Regions from separate parts of the Homo sapiens genome. Here region 1 is linked to region 2. Evidence: promoter capture Hi-C in 16 types of primary human blood cells and fetal thymus (Javierre and others, 2016). All regions are on one chromosome and are shown on one strand. Each heading gives the region's core, a stretch centred on a gene start or on the middle of the fragment in contact. The rest is flanking DNA. Distances are from core to core; before and after follow the strand shown. Region 1 overlaps APLF (aprataxin and PNKP like factor). Region 2 holds the start of LINC01888 (long intergenic non-protein coding RNA 1888).

Evidence for each region. Contacts are between HindIII fragments. The CHiCAGO score rates a contact against its expected background, and 5 or more counts as called.
Region 1: a fragment that was not itself captured here is called in contact with the fragment with the promoter of LINC01888 in region 2 in 10 of 17 cell types (naive CD4 T cells, total CD4 T cells, total B cells and 7 more); the score reaches 9.5 in naive CD4 T cells.

The regions. Positions count from the first base shown.
Region 1 is chr2:68,490,176-68,493,191 of GRCh38, forward strand. APLF (aprataxin and PNKP like factor) reads left to right here. Exons shown (of 10, transcript NM_173545.3): 2 at 15-86. Among named protein-coding and RNA genes, the nearest start is that of APLF, 24 kb to the left of the region's middle. The HindIII fragment of the contact is 4,870 bases long and covers 1-3,016 here.
Region 2 is chr2:68,830,600-68,833,472 of GRCh38, forward strand. It overlaps LINC01888 (long intergenic non-protein coding RNA 1888), which reads left to right and starts at 1,409. Exons shown (of 2, transcript NR_183895.1): 1 at 1,409-1,553. It overlaps LINC01890 (long intergenic non-protein coding RNA 1890), which reads right to left. Exons shown (of 4, transcript NR_183884.1): 2 at 2,233-2,451; 3 at 761-906. The HindIII fragment of the contact is 9,437 bases long and covers 1-2,533 here.

The sequences.
Region 1 (3,016 bases), core at 476-2,975, 340 kb before region 2:
TTTTTACTGTATAGATAACAGACAAGAGAGTATCCAGAAGACATGCCATTCTTGAGGTGGCAGGTGGTCAGCTGCGAATCAAACCGGTAAATATGTTATTAATGATTCATTTTAACTTTCATCTCTTACCCTTTCAGTTCCCAAGCAGAGGTGCCTATTTTCTAAGGTTATGGGAATAGGGAATTAATGTCAGAATATACCCTTCTCATTGCCAGAAAATAATTAGGAGATAAAGATCTAAACTGTGAGGAAAACTACATATTTTCTCATAGGACAATGCCACATTTACCTAATTAGAATTTCAATGAAAGATGACTGCCAGTTCATGTATATATTATGATTTGGTTTAAAATTGAATACTCCAAATAATAAGAAAGCCCATAACTATTAATGGTTGGTTTTTTGAGCTGGGGTAGTGACCAAAGTAACTTAAATGTTATAGGGTTATATTTTAACATATTCTCTATCACTCTGTATAGAGTTGAATATTTCTAAAACTTAGACTTTGTTCAACTTCGAGGTTTGAAAAATGATTTTAATTTGAAAGTTTTTGTTGAGGGCTCGAATTTTAATTGCTTGCTTTATAGTTTACTGCTGCGAAATCACTGATGATATGCAGGGACAGCCAGTTTCCAAGAATATACAATGTGATTATTCCTTTTCATTTGCAGAGTCTATTGTGTAAGAGAATGAAATACGTACATAAGGGTCCATTTATTTTAGACTAGATCGTATGGTGGTAAAATTTCATGGAATTCATTAATTTATAACTTTTTAAAACCAATTTGTATTTTCATATTTTATATACCACTGCCTGTTAAATCATTAGTTCTTTCTTTTACACAGATAGTACTTGCTTTTATTATCCTATGTTTAACTGTTTGCAAATTTGGAAAGCATCTTTTTAATTTTAGTACTTGGAAATTTTTTGAATAAAAAATTATTCAATGTATTCACCTTATCTCAACCTTGAATAAATAATCTTTAAAAGAGTTTATGTCTCATCTTCATTCTGCATTATCTTATTGTCTTGAAAAAGTGTTAATATCTGGAGTCAACACTTCTTTAGGAGCCACTGTATTTACCATTAGATATTCATCTCTGTATCCTCTCCAGCTATCTTATTCTTCTGAGATGACATACTGGATCATAAGGCCCTTGAGTGTAGGAACTCTGACTAATCTTTGTATCCCTAGTGTTTAGCATAGTGCCTAAGACATAGTAGGTATTTAATTAATATTTGTTGAATGCATGAGTAAACGCTGTGGTGAGAACTATCTATGGCATATCTAGGAGTGGGAACATGGTAGATTTTTACAAAAGTATGTTATTCTCTAGTGCCCAATTTCTAATACCCTGCCAATGAACTACCATGGCCTAAAATAAGTTTTTTTGTTGTTACTAAAGCACATTAAAGGAAAGAATAGAGGGATCTTGAAATATAGAAATGATTATTTTTTATTTATATAGATTTAGGGAGTGCAGTGCAGTTTTGTTACATGATTATATTGTGAAATGGTGAAATCTGAGCTTTTAGTGTAACCGTCACCTGAATAGTGTACATTGTACCCATTAGGTAATTTCTCAACCCTGTCCCACCTCTCACACTACCACCCTTCTGAGTCTCCAGTGTCTGCTCTGCCACTGTGTCCATGTCAGCACATTTATTTTGTGAACAAATTAACCAGTGGAATTGTGGACAACTCAATAGATATCAGATTTTCTCTTTACACTCTTTGTTTACTCAATGATAAGAAGAAACCCTTCTTATAACAAAATTGACATGGCATTAAATTTTTTTATATCAAAAATAGGTGATTAGAAAACCGTCATATTTACTAATGCATGAATATTTTAAACATTTACATTTTTTCTCAGTGTTAATCAAGGACATTTATATTTTAAAATGTTTTATAAATTGGCTTTAATAAAGGTGCTTAGTTGGAGTTGTGTCTATACTTGGCTGAAAATTATTCAGATATATTTTGTACTTTTGTGGCTATTCAAAAGAGTACTAATAAGGCTGGGCGCGGTGGCTCACGTCTGTAATCCCAGCACTTTGGGAGGCCGGGGTGGGTGGATCACGAGGTCAGGAGATCGAGACCATCCTGGCTAACACGGTGAAACGCCGTCTCTACTAAAAATACAAAAAATTAGCCGGGCACGGTGGTGGGCGCCTGTAGTCCCAGCTACTCTGGAGGCTGAGGCAGGAGAATGGCGTGAACCCGGGAGGCGGAGCTTGCAGTGAGCCGAGATTGTGCCACTGCACTCCAGCCTGGGCGACAGAACGAGACTCCGCCTCAAAAAACAAACAAAAAAAGAGTACTAATAATGTAAAATAAATATGCCCAAATTAAAGGTGATTTTATTAGTTGAAAATCTTACCTTGAGTTAAATTTTATCCAGTATGTACTGAGCCAAATTTCTATGTGAGATTTTAGCAGTGTTCAGTTATAAAAAGGCTCCTTTTTAAAATACTCTTCACTTTTACTGGGTCTTTAATTAGATGGTACGCAGATCATAAAACCACTATGTATGACATTAACAGGTGTCTTTTGAGCACAAAACTGTAGTAGAAATAATACTAGAAGCTAGAGCAAAAATTCCTCATGACCACTAGATATAAAACTAAAATTTGGAATGATTTATTTAAGTTATACCTCTGTTTATGATCTTTTAAATATTATTTAGTGTAATTTTGTAAACTTTCCCATAAATGTGATGTTTAGACATGGGAGAAAGGTAGCTCTTTTTTATCCTTTTTCGAGTACCTTTTTTTGACAACTTAGAATGTCATAGCCTTCTGGAGAACGTCTGATCTTAAATACTCAGCAAATTCTAGAATGGGAATGAGAGCCCAGGTTCTTTGAACTCTGTAGTATTTTTTTGTTGTTGTTATGTTTCTGAAGTCAGGATTCTCTTGGCATTGGGTGTCTTTTCTTTAAAAAAATTTCTTCAAGTTACAACTAATTGATGATCTGTCTTAACAAGAAGTTTTAGTGCCTTCAGTTGAATA
Region 2 (2,873 bases), core at 159-2,658:
TTAAGGATTGACTCTAAACATAGGCAAAGAAGATAAGCACTTGAGGGCCTGATTTAAAGAGTCCCGAGAATAGCTCTGATGAAAATCATCTCTTTTTCAGACTCATGTTAGATTGAGAAATCCCTACCAGTAGCCTTTGGAATATTAACCACAAACGTGATATTTCTGGGAGACTCCATGAAGCCTCCATTAATCGTTAGTATCATCTTTATATTAGTTATCTGCTTCCCAGCAGAAAGCTGTGTAATGAAGGAACGAGAGCCTGGCCAGATAAGCAGTGCTGTGGGTGGAGGAACAGATCAAGAGTATGGATGTTGGCCAGGCACAGTGGCTCACGCCTGTAATCCCAGCACTTTGGGAGGCCGAGGCGGGCAGATCACGAGGTCAGGAGTTCGACGCCAGTCTGGCCAACATAGTGAAACCCTGTCTCTACCAAAAATACAAAAAATTAGCCGGGTATGGTGGTGTGCGCCTGTAATCCCAGCTACTCTGGAGGCTGAGGCAGGAGAATCACGTGAACCTGAGAGGCGGAGGTTGCAGTGAGCCGAGATCTCGCCATTGCACTCCAACCTGGGTGACAGTGGGAGACTCTATCTCAAAAAAAAAAAAAAAGTATGGATGTTACCTAGGAGTATTGCAGTGTGGGCCCCTGGCTGCCTTAGGTGGGGTGAGGGTGCAAAAATCAGGCCTTAAAAAGGGAAACGGGGACTCATCATCAGGGTGGACGGAGAAATGGTTTGCCCCCACATACACCTGATACCTGCTCAAAGTTGGCACTTGTCCTCCTTCCTTCTCTCTGTTCTCCCTTATTGATGTCCTTTCAGTCCTGCTGAGGCCAGCCCATGCTAAACATCACCCTGGTTCTTGGGTCTTTGTTCAGCATCAGTAGCAATATCATGACAATAACTACCAATAATAAGCAACAAATACCATTTTAATACTTTCTGGTGAGCACTGTATCCATGTCATTTCCTTTAAATCTCAAATCAACTCTTTTCTGATTGCAATCAAACCTGTTTTACTGAGGTCTCAATGTGGCTTAGCTAGGAACTGAAGCGTATATACAGTCTACACAAGGCTACATTATCCTTGCCCTCACATAGGGAGGAAGTACAACATAGAAAATGACCCCTTGGCAGAGATGGACTAAAGCAAAATCTGCAAAGACTTTTTCTTTAAAAGGCTGGCAGGGATTCTGGAAAGAACCACTAACTGCCTTGTCTGACTCAGCATCAAGATGGAAAAATATACAGAGGCTGTTGCCTTCCCCACAGCCTAAGTCAAATCCACCTGCTTGCTCTGAGGCTGTCTGGGAGGCCACACATCACCATGCCCTTTCCTGGAGTCAATTCTTGGTCCCATGTCATTAGCCCCACCCTCGAAAGAACTCTGGGAATGGGGTTGCCTTGGAGTCCCCGGTTCCGTGTGGCTAAAGAGTGAGCCTCTCATATCTCCATGCTGAATTTCCTCACTCATTCACAACCCTCCTTTCCATTTCAAGAAATCTTTCTGTTCCCACAAGCCTGGGAGGGCCTTTGAGTGGGGCATATTGGGTAAGTTTGAAGGAGTACTGCCAGTGAGACCTTCAAAAGACTCTGTGTGAATGGGCTGGTGTTGGTGGGAGGAAACAGGGTCACAGATTCCCCTTCCCTTCCCCCTTGTAAGATGTGTCATCAGTTAAATATAGGCTCTGGCCCTGTGGACGTTTACAGGCTAAGACAGCCCGCCCTGACTGGGGCTCACAGCTTCTGAGAGGAGGACACTGGGATGTCTTCAGCCCATTTCACGTGGGCTGACTGTTTCCAAAACACTCCTGGTGGGTCAGCGAGCAGAGGAAGTGTTACCATGTGATCACTTTAGAAACACCCACCTAATGACGCACTAACACGGATTTGCCCTCTGTTTTTCACATTTGATCATTCCTGACACTTTGGCGAGGAAACAAAACCCTATTTCTCTTAGAAGTCACTCCTTCCCTGGATGTGAAAGAGGGCAGTGGTTTCCCTGTCAGTCCTCTTTTAGGGAAAGATCTGGGTGAGCACATGACCCAGCTCAGCTGGTCTGGGGCTGGACACAGACACAATTGTGAGAACTTGAACTGACTCACCAGGAAGCAGGTGGTTGGGACTAGGTACTGTTGTCTATTTCAGTGCTAGATATTGCCTTTAATGAAAAACTAGCCCCAATCAGAAAAAAGCCAACACCACGCTCTGCAATACTAAGTTGACTCACCTGTTGAAATGCTGTTTATTAAGCAAAACCAGTATCCTCAGAATTCCAGCTTTCACTTTCAAGTTTCTTATGTGGGATTTCATAGTATTGGGCCCAGTGATGTGTACATCAATGGTTTGGCTTGCTGTTTATGCTACTTATTTACTCGAGCAGTCACTCTGGTGTGTTCCCATGGCTTTTCTGAAAGTATTAGAATACAGCTCCCAAAGAATGTGAGTGCTATTGGAGAAATAAAATACATGGAAATCATATGGCATCCAGCAATTGCTATGCCTATCTTGAGATAGCTGATCCCTAGATAAGCTTGGTAGTTGTGTTACCAATGATGTCTTTTCTTAGTACACATAGATTGTACTCAAGGAATAGCAAAATGTTACAACACTGATTCTTCCTCCTATAGTTAATGGCATTTTAAAAGAGTTATGCTTGACTAAAGACATAGTTTTTAAAAATGCAAATATTGAGTGCTTTCAATTCCCTAAGCATGGTGTTTTCTGCTTTACCTGCAATGTATTAATTAATTTTCACAGAAAACTATGAGGCAGCGGCTACTATCATCCCCATTTTACAGATGAGAAAACCGAGACTTAGAAAGGTTAAGTAATCTGCTCAGGCTCACAGTTCATATCCCATTTCTAAGA